Linked DNA regions of Homo sapiens: region 2 is linked to region 1. Evidence: promoter capture Hi-C in human tissues and cell types (Jung and others, 2019). All regions are on one chromosome and are shown on one strand. Each heading gives the region's core, a stretch centred on a gene start or on the middle of the fragment in contact. The rest is flanking DNA. Distances are from core to core; before and after follow the strand shown. Region 1 holds the start of GGT7 (gamma-glutamyltransferase 7). Region 2 overlaps TRPC4AP (transient receptor potential cation channel subfamily C member 4 associated protein).

Region 1 (6,677 bases), core at 3,546-6,045:
CCATGTTGGCCATGAGGCTGGTCTCAAACTCCTGGCCTCAAGCAATCCGCCCGCCTTGGCCTCCCAAAGTGTTGGCATTACAGGCGTGAGCCACTGTGCCCGGCCCTAGGTATGGTTTAATTTGTTTTCTCCAGTCAGATATAAGGATCCAGGAGGTAAAGGTGACATGTCCCTATCATAGCTATTCAAGACTCTCTACTCCACCAGTCCATCATAAAGTTATTGATTTATACAATAAAAATATTTACTGAGTACCTACTATGTGCACTGTGGAACAGCTAGGGCAATAACAGTGTTGATTTTACTGATAGGGAAGAGCAACAGCAGGATACTGGAAAAAGATTAATTTGCAACCAGAAGGAATAAGTCTTTTGGGAGAAAGATGACAAGTTCAATTTTGGTTATTATAAATTTGTGGGACACCATAAGAAGCTGTCTGGAGGCAGTTGGCCTAGTAGATATCTAATTTTTACCTTCAGGGCTCATCCCTGGTATCTGCTTGGATACCACTTCTCATTCAATTTTCTTTTAAGGAACATTCTCTCTCCTCTCTCAGCCAACTCCCTCATCCCTGACCAAAGTATATAACTCAGACTTGGCCAGTCAGAACAGGTACCTCTGTGCAGTAACAGGCAATGTGAACAAAGCCAGGCCAATAAGACCCAAACTTTGTTATTTTGCTGGAACTACTGGGAAAGAGAAAGGCTCCTCTTTCTATTACACTTAAGTTGCTAAGTTGGTAGGATGTAAGCCTGTAGCTGCTGGGGGCATCTTGCCCCTAATAAAATGGGAGGCCTTCTGCCAATGAAGCCCACCAAAAGAAGGCAGAGCAAAAGATGGAGAAAAGTCCATTCCTTTTTAGGTACCTTAATCCAGCTATGCCTGAAACCCCATATCCCTGGACTTTTCAGTTATGCTACCCAGTAAAATTCTCTTTTTGGATGTAGCTCAGTTAAACTGGGTTTATAACAAAATAATCCTGAACAAAATTGATTATACAAGTCCAGAGTTTAGGAGAGTGATCTTGGCTAGAGGCTAGGGTCATCCCTGGCTTGTTGTTTATTCCCTTAAGGGGAGAATCACTAAAATAAATAAATAAATAAATATATATATATATAAAATTTTGAAACAGTGTCTCACTCTGTTGCCCAGGCTGGAGTACAGTGGTATAATCTCAGCTCACTGCAGCCTCAACCTTCAGGGCTCAAGCCATCTGCCCACCTCAGCCTCCCGAGTAGCTGGGACTACAGACAGGCATGCACCACCACACCTGGCTAATTTTTGTATTTTTTCTAGAGACAGGGTTTCACCATGTTGCCCCGGCTGGTTCTGAATTCCTGAGCTCAAGCAATCTGCCCACCTTAGCCTCCCAAAATGCTGGGATTACAGGTGTATGCCACTATGCCCGGCAGAATCACCAAAGATGTCTGAACCAGGGAGTGACATGACCAGAAGCGATGGATGGATTGGGGTGGGGACTGGGCAAGAGGGAGGAGGCAGGAGGAGTAGCTAGAAGCCTATAAATAATATTGATAAGAGAGGTTGGTGGCTTAGTCTACAGTGGTGATGACAGGGATGATGAGTAGGAATTTGGAAGATACTTAGGAGGGGTGCAGAGAGCACTTGATCACCATTTGGAAATGAGAAGAAAAGGAGGAGTCCAGCATGCCATTCATTATTGGGAGACTGGGTGACTGGCAGTGTCATTAATGGAGAATGGCAGTGGAGGAAGAGCAGGTGCATGGGGAAGGGATATGATGAGTTCAAAATAGAACATGCTATAGATGAGGCACTTGCAGGACATCTGGAGACACAGGCCTGGGAGAGAAAGGAACACAAGGGCTTGGAGCTCAGAAGAAAGAAAGTATTTCCCAACCTTGGAATGATCACTGTCTAGCTCTCTTTCCCACAGAGCCTGATGTGGGGTGCCTGGCACTTGGGTTTAGGGAATGGCAGGCTAGAGGCTAGCTGGGCACAACCAAGGTCCTGGCTAAGAGGATGGTGCTGTGCCACTAGATGGTACCACCAGGTTGAGAACACAGGAGGCCATGTCAGCCTGTAGTCTGGTCCAGGTGAACCGAGGAAGCCTTGGGGCTTGGAAGTAGGATTGGGAGATATGGCATTCAAATGATTACACTGAAATGATGGCAACACACAAACCTGACACATAAATTTGGCATAAGGTATAAACTCCCAGAAGCTCAGATGACTAGGATCTCTGCTGGATTTCCATACAGGGGTGAGGGCAGAGCCTGTATTGAACTTCCCAAAATACTCCCTGAGGTTTTGGAACTTGCTCTCTCCTACCATTCTTTCATCCTCTCTCCTACCATTCTTTCATCCTGAGATCTTCTCTCTCATGCATTTATTCATTCAACAATTATTGAGTGCCCAATAAATAAATAGAGATGAGGGTTTTTTTTGTTGTTGTTGTTTGTTTGTTTTTTTGAGACAGAGTCTCACTCTGTTGCCCAGGCTGGAGTGCAATGGCGCGATCTTCGCTCACTGCAACCTCTGCCTCAGCCTCCTGAGTAGCTGGGGTTACAGACACCTGCCACCAGGCCTGGCTAATTTTTTTTTTTTGTATTTTTAGTAGAGATGGGGTTTTGTCATGTTGGCCAGGCTGTTTTTGAACTCCTGACCTCAGGTGATCCACCCGCCTCAGCATCCCAAAGTGCTGGGATTACAGGTGTGAGCCACCACACCGGCCAGTGTATTTTGTTTTGTTTTTTGTTTTTTGTTTCTTTTTGAGACTGAGTCTCACTCTGTCACCCAGGCTGGAGTGCAGTGGAGTGATCTCGGCTCACTGTAACCTCTGCCTCCCCAGTTCGAGTGATTCTCCTGCCTCAGCCTCCCGAGTAGCTAGGATTACAGGCACCCACCACCATGCCCAGCTAATTTTTGTATTTTTAGTAGAGATGGGGTTTCACCATGTTGGCCAGGCAGGTCTTGAACTCCTGACCTCAAGTGATCCACCCACCTCAGGCATGAGCCACCGCGCCCGGCCTATGGATAAGGTCTTGATGCTGGAGAAAGGAGAGTGAACAAAACAATCATGATCCCTGCCCTCATGGGGCTTACAGACAGGGAGTAATCAGATAATTGCACAAATAAATAATCATAGATTTTGGTAAATGCTAAGACATTTACAGAGGGCCAGAAGAAAACATGTCAGGCAGTTCCAATCTCTAGGTCAAGAGAGACAGGCATTCTCTGTTGAGCTGGAAGAGGAAACTAAGGCCCAGGACAGGGTAGGTGTGCCTGTTGTCGCTTGGTGAGTCAGGGCTGTATTAGGACCAGAAGTCTCACTCCTGACTACTGAATAAAAGGCCTAGCTTCAGGCTGATATCCATCATGACACATCTTCCCACTCCTCTCCCTGCTACCTCCTGATTCCACTCCCTTTGGAAAATAAGTTTTGATCCGCAGCCCTGACATTTGACGCCCATAAACCTCTAAACTCCATCTTCATTATCTCCTCACCCCCACCCCATACAGAGTGCAGTCCAGTCAGGTTGGCAAGGGCTGCTGGTCAGGGCCAGATGACCAGAAAGTGTAGAGGAGGAGAGAATTTGGGGCTTTCAGGCTGGGAGCAGCTAGGGAAGGGCCAAGCCGGAAAAGCAGCATCTGCCAGGCTGGTAAGAGACAAGGCTCAAGTGCAGGCACTGCGAGGAAGCGAGAGTGAGGTAGAAGGATGCTCTAATGCCAGGAAGTGACGTGCAGGGACAGAGGGATGGGGGATGAAGGATGAAGAATGGAGGGGAGGATGAAGCTGGGCCACATGGCTAGGAGGAAGAGCAGCAGGGAAGGAATGCACAGAGAGCTCTTTGCCCCCAGGTCTCTTCCAATCCCTGTCTCCTCCTTCTCTTACCCCCACTTCTCACAATTCCAGCAGAGGGCTGAGGGGAACACAGTAAAATTCTGGAGACTGCTTCCTAGGGAGCAGAGTACCTTACTAATACCCCGGCCAGATCCATGGCTCAGGGAGGGGTGGGGTAATCCACAGGAGAGTGAAGGCGTTCTAGTCCCCAAGGACTTTTGAGAGGTCATGCAGTCCATGCCTCCGTCTCCCAACACCCAACAGAGGGGAATCATATTCTCTTTACCCCTCCCTAGACATGAAGAGATTCTCCGCTTCTCCCAGACCCTCTGCTTCTCACAATCCCTGGCTGTGGGGAACTTCTCTTAAGGCACAGATTGGATCCCTCTTGCTGCAGTCTCTGACTTGGTTTCTCCTATCCTGTCCTCTGTGGCTAGAGAAAGCCCTCTTCTGGGTGATCACAGCGGTTCCTTAGGATCTCCCCTTCAACATTCCTTCATCGTTAGTTGGTTCTTCCCAGAAGGTAAGCCCAATCCCTTCTACTGCAGTCCCTAGCATCCTCTCCGTTGTCGCATCCTACGCCTCCAAGGCAGAAATGCACCCCCTTCCTCACCAAATAATTAACAGAGACAAGGGAGAAGAAGGGAGAGATCCAAGAAGATGGGGATGAATTAAGGAGATGGAGCTGGAGGTGGATGCTTGACACAGAAGAAGGAAGACCGGGGACTTCCCAAGGCAGGGCAGGGACGGGGTCAGCGGGCCTCACCGGTGTCGGGGTCTCCCAGAAAGGCGTCCTCGTCCTTGCGGCCCCTCAGCGGGGCCGCGGGCGCCGGCTCGTCCTCGGGCAGCCGCGGGAAGCTGGTGATGCTCATGTAGTCCACTGGCGAGTAGGCGCCCAGGGCGCTCTCCTGGCTGGCCTCGTTCTCCGCCGCCATCCTCGCCCGCGCCCCCCAGCAGCGCAGCGCCTGCCGGAAGTGGCTGCGGCGGGGGAGTGGGAGGGCGGAGGGCGGGGCCTGATCTTCGCGACAGCCGGGAGGGGGCGCCTCTCCCAGCCCTCGGCCGTGTCCCGGTCTGACTCGCCCCCGTCTGCTCAGCGCTATCAGCCTGCAGCTGGCACACAGGTGCGTGTAGATGGACAGCCAGGAAGGCAGCGCAGGGTCGAGGGGAGAGCGCGGGGCAAGCGAGACTTCAGTGGCTCTGCACTTTACGCAGCTCAGGGACCAAACCCCTTCCTCCTTCCAGCCTGAATACAGCTAGTGTCCTCCTCAAATCCCAGGCTTCCTTTTCGGGCCCCAGACCCTTTCACTGACCGCAAATCCCTCTCGACCCCAGATCCTGTCTCTGACCCCAAACTCCTCGGACCCCAGACCCCTCCTTGAATTCCGAGATCCTCCTCCTCCGATTTTAGACTCCTCCTCCGACCTTAGACCTCTTTTTCGACTTCAGACTCTGTCTTCACCCCCAAACCCTTTTGAAAACCCCAGCCCATGCTTCATCTCCAGGCCTCTTTGACTGCAGACGCCTCTTTGGACAACAGATCCCTCCTCTGACCTCAGATCCCTTCCCGCACCCCGACACTTCTGACTCCTCTTTCAACCGCATTCTCAAACTTTAGTGTGTGTTAGGATCTTTGAAAGCGGATCCCCAGATTCCACTCCAGAGATCATGATTCAGTAGGCTGGGATGAGGTCCTTGGAACCTGAATATTTACCATCATTTTAAGAGTTTTTGATGTGGTTCTGGAAAGGACACTTTGAGAAAGAAGGAGTGGTGGTAGTGATGGTAGGGCAGGAGTGGGGCAAGGTGGGGAATAGGTCTCCATATTCTGGATGTCTGGGTTCTATTCTGCCACCGCTCAAACACTGTGTAATCTTGGGCAAGACAATTAGTCTCTCTATCAGTTTCCCCATCTGTGAAATGGAAAGAATAATAGTACCCATTTTAGAGGGTTGTCATGAGGATTAAGTAACAGAATGGAAAGCGATTAGTATAGGGCTTGGCACCTACTCAATAAATGGCATCATCATCATCATCATCATTGCCTTAATCTGGTAGATTCATTCCCTCCAAACTCATCCATCCTCTCTCCACTCCAAAATTCCAACCACACTACAGCTTGTACTACTTCTCCATATCCAAGGATGAGGGAGGTTCCTTCTTTTACGAGGTCTCTGTTCCAAACTTTCATTGTGAAGTCCACAGGAAGAGAGGGGGGCTGGTGAAGCCTCTATACACACATCCTTTCTCTTCCCAACCCCAGACCAGTCTCAGGGATGGCCTGAAGTGCTTGAAAAATCTACTATATACACAGCAGCTGCAGTAGCAACTATAGACAGGAGGGGGAAGCAGTGTGTCGGGAACAGCTCTGGGGTTTGGGTGTAGGACTTGGGAGAGAGGATAGGAAGGAGAGGGCTACTCAGAGCTGTGTGGTAAGAGTGCCCAGGGAGGGTAACAGTCTATCACCAAAAAGTGTACCCATTGTCTGTGCCTTTCCCCACCCCAGAGAGTTCTTATCTCCTCAGTGATGTTTGTAGGGTCTATTACACTACCCTGAGGTCTAATCCCTCTGGTGGGACCCTTCCCCACTTGATGAGGTCTGCACCTTCTCAGTGATGTCCACTCCCACAGTGTAGTTGGCAGCTCCTCACTGGAGTTTGAGTCCTCTGGTAGGGTCCACGTCTCCTTAGTAAAGTCTATATCCTCTGTATCTCTTAGGGGAAATCCATGTCTCCTCACTAGGGTAAGTGCCCTTCAAAGCCATTCATGTCCTATTAGCAGGGCCCAGGGCCCTTCAGTCAGATCTGAGAACCCCCAGCAACATCTGTGCTCCCTTAGTGGAGTCCATGTACTGTCAGTG
Region 2 (6,677 bases), core at 2,917-5,416, 140 kb after region 1:
GAGGAGCGGGGGAAGTCCATAGGAGTTAGAAATGAAGAAAGGACCGAGGAGTTTGGAATAGTGAGCCAAGGAACTGATACTCAGCAGCTGTGGGCAGTGTGGAGAGGTGGAGACAAGACCTAGTCACACTAAGGCTTGGGTTTTAATGCCCTGCAGGGACTAGACAGGGTGTCAGGTCCCAGTAAAGCCTGGGGAGCATGTACACTTGGTGAAAGAAGGGTTAGAAAGGCCTGACCCACCAGCCCAGGGAGCCTGGCTCTGCCATGGTGCTGCTGGTGGGTGAAGGGGGCCCTCCCAAGAGCAGCAGAAACCCTGGGCTCATACGACTGGGGCAGTAGGGCCAAGACATTAAATAAGAAAACTGGCCCTGGGACAGCTGCCAGACAAAAGCAAAAGTGCCCTGTAGAAATGCCTCCAGGGCTGAGGCTACACAGGTATCCAAGGGGGAAACTAACCCCACTGACCTCAAGTGATCTGCCCGCCTTGGCCTCTCAAAGTGCTGGGATTACGGGTGTGAGCCACCATGCCCGGGAGCACGTTTCTATAGGTGGATGAAAATTACAATAGGATAAAACAGCAAATAAGGAAAAGCAGGCTGCTAGCTCATGCAGTGGGCAGCCCCCTCCCTGCCTGGAGTGAAATGAGATCCCCATCACAGAGATTACAAGGGGAAGTGGCTAGAGGGCCTCAGGCAGAATTTTTTTTTTTTTTTTTTTTTGAGACACAGTCTCACTCTGTTGCCCAGGCTGGAGTGCAGTGGCGTGATCTCAGCTCACTGCAACCTCTGCCTCCTGGGTTCAAGCAATTCTGGTGGCCGCTCCACAGACATTACAAAACACGAGGCAACACTCCACCCTGAGGTCTGAAGACCCAAACACAAGCATTAGTGCCCCATGAGCAATCGAAAGAGACCTTAAGAAAGTATTTTAAAAATGATTAAAAACAGAATATGCAGCAGAAAAAAGATATTAACATCATGGCTAAGCAGTTTCCGAATTGAGCCAGACAGAACATCTAGAAATGCAAAATATATTTGCTTGAAATTAAAAACTCAAATGATAAAGCAGAAGACAGGTCGCTGAGGGAAGTCCCCAGAGTGCAGTGAAGAGAAGAGGGCCCCATGGCACCAGGCCGATGGCTGGGTGGCACTTTTAGGTCCCAGAGCACTTTCCTTCTCATGCTGGTAGGCAGGGTGCCGACTAGCCGGGGGGCCAATAGGGGAAAGAGTATTATCCTTCTTTTGCAAGAAAACAGAGGCTCAGAGATTCAGTGATTCATTCAAGCTCTTCCAACAAGCCTTCCAATGTCCTGTTCAGAGCTCTCTCAAGGGGACTGTGAGAGACACAAGCTAAAGGAGAGTGCTTGGGCTCAAAAAACCAAAGCCACCTTTTTTTGTATGAGACAGTGTCTTTGCTCTGTCACCCAGGCCGGATGTGCAGTGGCTTGATCTTAGTTCACTGCAACCTCTACCTCCCGGGTTCAAGTGATTCTCCCACCTCAGCCTCCTGAGTAGCAGGGATTACAGGTGCCCCACCAACATGCCTGGCTAATTTTTGTATTTTTAGTAGAGACGGGGTTTCACCATGTTGGCCAGGCTGGTCTCGAACTCCTGACCTCAAGTGATCTGCCCGCCTTGGCCTTTCAAACTGCTGGGATTACGGGTGTGACCACCACGCCCGGGAGCACGGTTCTATAGGTGGATGAAAATTACAATAGGATAAAACAGCAAATAAGGAAAAGCAGGCTGCTAGCTCATGCAGTGGGCAGCCCCTGCCTGGAGTGAAATGAGATCCCTATCACAGAGATTACAAGGGGAAGTTGGCTAGAGGGCCTCAGGCAGGAACTTTTTTTTTTTTTTTTTTTGAGACACAGTCTCACTTTGTTACGCAGGCTGGAGTCCAGTGGCGTGATCTCAGCTCACTGCAACCTCTGCCTCCTGGGTTCAAGCAATTCTGGTGCCTCAGCCTCCCGAAGAGTTGGGATTACAGGCACCCAACACCATACCTGGCCAATTTTTGTATTTTTAGTGAGAGACGCAAGTGTCTCTCACACTAGTGAGACAGGGTTTCACCATGTTGGCCAGGCTGGTCTGTAACTCTTGACCTCAAGTGATCTGCCCGCTCGGCCTCCCAAAGTGCTGGGATTACAGGCCTGAGTCACTGTGCCCAGCCTAGGAAGATCTTAAAAGGGATTTCTGCATAGGTTGGGGTGGGGAGTGGAGTTCACTCAGATCCTACTCCAAGGTAGCTTCCAATTAGGGGACTATAAGATATGATTTTAGTTTCTGCTCTACTCCCAAAGGAAAAAAGGTCAAAGGGTCAGCAGCAGGTCTTGAAACAACTACTCCAAGCCAGTGAGGCCCCATCTGTCCCCGGGGGTCTCCTGCTTACCGGGCTACAGTCACAGTTCTGGTTGTGACCATGGAGGACAAGGGCAGATGCTGAATGCTTCCTCCAAATCAGTTTGTCAAACAAATTATTAAGTCCAGGGATCAGCTTGAACTCTGCAATCATTCTGTGAACCTGAATGGGATAGGAAGGAAAAAGTATTAAGACAAATGTGCTTGAAAAATCTAGCAAAACCTCGTGCTCAGTACACACGATAATGATATTCAGGACAAGTATCAGTACTGTCAGTAAGGAGGGCCAGGGTCTGAAGAAAACATCCGTGTATCCCCTATGCCCAGCACACACAAACCCACTTTCTAACTTTGCTCATTAATGCTCACAATAATCCTACAAGGCATAATGTCCGGTAGTTCCTATCACAGAAGCATGAGTTTGGGATTCAGAGAGTCCTGCATATGATTCAAGAGTCCTTTGGGATGCAAGAGTCCTGGGTTTGACTCTTAGCTTTACCATGTGCAAACTTTGTAACCTTAAACAAATTCCTTAAGATTTGTCTCCTCGTATTAACATCAAAATGTTCCTCATGCTTTGCACTAGGATAAATTTCAGCTGAAAGTAAGATACAATTATTAAAAAACTCTAAGATCTAGAAAAATCTCTGCAAAGAAAAAAAAATGATCTAAGAGTTGGAAAAGCCTTTCTGAAGGATTATAATAAACCTAGAAGCTCAAAAAGAAGCTTGTTGACATCAACCACCTAAACCTTTAAAAATTCTGTATGGCAAAACTCAAGCAAAGTCACAAGCCAAATATGACAAACAGAGAACATACATTGGCAATTCATGCCACAGGCAAAGAAATTCCTCTATAAGGAGTCCTACAAATGTCTCTGATTTTTCACTTTTTCAGACTGGGAAAGATGACAAAGCTTTATAAGACCGTGTTGGTGACTTGGGCATTGGGTACATTCACACGCTGTTGGTGGGAGGGCACACTGGTATGACCTGCACAGGGAAGAGTGTTTGGCAGTAGCTCTAAAATTGCAAATCCATAATCCCTTTAAACCAGCAATTCCACTTTAGGAATTTACACTCAGACAGATCCATATAAACACTAAATGATATATATTTACAACACTACTCACTATAGCATTATTTGTAATACCCCAAAATAAATTATGGTATGCCACTCAATGGGATACAAGGCACCAGTAAAAAAGAATCAAGGTATTTTATATGTCGTGAACTGAACAATTGCCGAGAGATAATACTGGGAAAGCAAGTGTGCTCATGCTGTATTACTGATTGTGTAAAAAAAGAGGAATACAATTCGCCTTTGTAAGCATAAAAATGTCTCTAGAAGGATACACTAATAACTGGTAAAATTAGCTGCTTCATGGAACCATTAGAATAGAATGTCAAGGATCAGAGGGGAGAGAGGCTTCACTTATACTAATTTATATCTTTTAAAACAGAACTGCAGGAATGATTTCCCTGTTAAAATTTGTTTATATAACATAAGGCTATTACTAGCCCTTCTCGGGGCTGTTGTAAGGATCGAGTCAGAAAGCAGATGTAAAGCTCTGCACACAGCACCAGTGCTCGCTTATTGCTATTTTACAAGGGGGAGAAGTTCAGCAAGACCAGCCTGGGTAAGGTCAGTGATTGCAACGGCACCTAACTCAGGTGTTCAGATCTTAAGTCTGCCCCTTTCTAGCCCACTACAGGTATGCATTTATCTTGGGAGACCAGAAGCTGACAAAGACATCCCTGGCAGCCTCCATTTCCATGGACCTCTTCCTTCAACATATTAGGTTGTGTAAAAGTAATTGCGATTTTTGCCACTGAAAGTAATAGAGGTGACTATTCTCTTCCTACTAGAAATCACAGCCTCTGGCCAGTGTTAAGACTCATAAGCAGCCCAGAATCTGTTAGACTGAGGCTGATGTAAAATGACACCTGTTCTGCCACTCAGGCCTTTACTAAAACCCAGCCTGGATCTACCTTGCCCTGCTTAACTGGGGGTGGGGAGGTACGGCTGACATCTATGGTGTTCACCAAGCCATGTGCCTTCCTGTCTCACTCCAAAGGGCCCTAAGCCAGGCCCAGGTCACACAGCTATAAAATGTTCCAACAATGGCCCAAAAAAATTCATCCAGTGCAATTGCCTCACTGCACAGACTAGAAACCCAAGCTTAAGAGATTAGGGGTGAGTCACACAGCTGGGAAGAGAGGGGCCTTCTAAGGCAGACTTGGACCTGACCCTGGGTCTCCTAAGTTCAGGCCAGTGCTTAGGTTTGAGGTTTCTACTACATCATTTCCCTTTTCTCTTAACAATACCAGCTTCTCGGCCGGGCATGGTGGCTCACGCCTGTTAATCCCAGCACTTTGGGAGGCCAAGGCGGGCGGATCACTTGAGGCCAGGAGTTTCAGACCATCCTGGCCAACATGATGAAACCCTGTCTCTACTAAAAATACAAAAATTAGCTGGGTGTGGTGGTGTGTGCCTATAACCCCAGCTACTTGGAGGGCTGAGGCAAGAGGATCGCTTGAGCTGGGGAGGCAGAGGTTGCAGTGAGCCGAGGTCATGTCACTGCACCACTCCAGCCTGGGTGGCAGAGCAAGACTGTCTCAAAAAAAGAAAAAAAAAAAAAAAAAAAAAAGAAAGAAAGAAAATAGCAGCTTCTTCATGTGTAAAATTTGTAAAACAAATTTTACTTGTAGAATGCATTATTCCTACTCTCAGGTCCAGCCCCGTAGCCTGCTCTATAGCAGGATGGTAGGCAGGTGGGCGAGATGAAGTGCCACTCTACCAGAGGAGGCAGCGGGTACAGGCTCAGGCATTTATCTCTGCAGTCAGACAGCCCTGGGTTCACAAGATAGCTCTGTGACCCTGGGCAACATTCTTTGAACCCAAGTCCCTTGATAGAAAAGGCGATGGGGGACGATGGAGCTGTTGAAAAGGCTCAGTGAGGTACTGTAGAAGCTACTCAGGGGGCACTAAAAGAAACGACTGCTATATGGATGGTTTTCATTAGCACCAGAGGGATGAAACTTGACAGCACATGGGGAGCCTTTCCAGTCCTGAGATTTCAATTTGGCCAAGATTGGTCTGAGAACTTGGCCCAACTGCTCATTAACGAGGAGGCCTCTTTAAGGAGGAAGCCTTCTGTGAGGCCTGGCCAAGGAAACCCTTCCCCTTGCTACCCAGTGTAGGCAGGATCTGGGAATCCAGATCCTCACGGTGCCCGGCACACAGCAGAAACCCAGGAAATGCTGACTGTGCAAATGAGAACACGCTAGTGAAACAGTGGTTTTGGGGGGCCAGGATTTCAAGGTCATTAGTGGTCCCTTCCCAAGGAACCAGCACTGTAATCATACAGTTTAACTCAAGACCGCAACAACTCATAGCAACCTGGCAACAAGAAGGCTCAGGGAACAGAGAACTGCTGTGAGAGGGCAGAAAGAGGAGACAGGGCAGCAGAGTTTAAATCCTGGCTCTATCCAGGCCTGTCCCCTGAGCGCACAGCCCAGTTTATGCCCTGGCTTTCTCAAGAATCGAGTGTGGGGACACAGAGTCACCACCTGTTGTGTAACTTACTAAATACCTGAAAATTCAAACAACTGTGAAAGTGCCTCGAAAAAGTAATAGCACTCAATGCACAGAAGCTGTCCCTACAATTATTTCACATATAAGCAACTGCGAAAGTGCCTCAAAAAAGTAATAGCACTCAATGCATAAAAGCTGTCCCTAAAACTATTATTTTTTATTAAAAACATGTTCCGTATTGAAGGAAGGGACACCAATGCTGTGGCTATCACCGTGGGATCTCATCCAGTGTCCTGGTTTTAAATACAACCATATGCTGAGGACTCCCAAAGTGATACCTCCAGCCTTGCCATCTCCCCAACACCAGGTGTAGGTAATCAATCCAAGTGTCAATTCTAACACACACCTCAAATCTACCTTGTACAAAACACAACTCCCCATCTTCCTCCCTAAGCCTGCTCCTCCACCCCTTACCTGCTAGTCTTAACCACCTCAATACCTGGCAAATCCATTCTCCTACTTCCTTGGGCGAAAAACCTTGGGAGTCACCCTTAACTCCTCTCCTCACTCTTAAGTTCACATCCAAACCATCAGCAAATCCTATCTTTCAAAACATATCCAGAATGCAACCACCTCCCACCAGTCCCACCATCAATGTGCTGGTCCTAGCTGCTATCATCTCTTGGCCCTATTATGAGGGCCCCTAATGGTCGCCCTATTCCCTTCCTTGCTGTTTCCAGTCTTTCCAAAAGCAGTCAGAGGAATGACTTCTCACTTCACT

Evidence for each region. The method cuts DNA at HindIII sites, captures the fragments that hold promoters and counts their contacts. A contact is called where the count stands out against the background at its distance.
Region 2: a contact is called between a fragment that was not itself captured here and the fragment with the promoter of GGT7 in region 1, in 2 of the 25 tissues and cell types used here (aorta and spleen).

Annotation. Positions count from the first base shown.
Region 1 is chr20:34,868,061-34,874,737 of GRCh38, forward strand. GGT7 (gamma-glutamyltransferase 7) reads right to left here and starts at 4,796. Exons shown (of 15, transcript NM_178026.3): 1 at 4,587-4,796. The coding sequence starts at 4,755. RefSeq lists a silencer at 4,678-4,967. The HindIII fragment of the contact is 17,400 bases long and covers 1-6,677 here.
Region 2 is chr20:35,013,618-35,020,294 of GRCh38, forward strand. It overlaps TRPC4AP (transient receptor potential cation channel subfamily C member 4 associated protein), which reads right to left. Exons shown (of 19, transcript NM_015638.3): 10 at 2,391-2,522. Among named protein-coding and RNA genes, the nearest start is that of MIR499B, 26 kb to the left of the region's middle. RefSeq lists a silencer at 4,476-4,676. The HindIII fragment of the contact is 6,059 bases long and covers 1,138-6,677 here.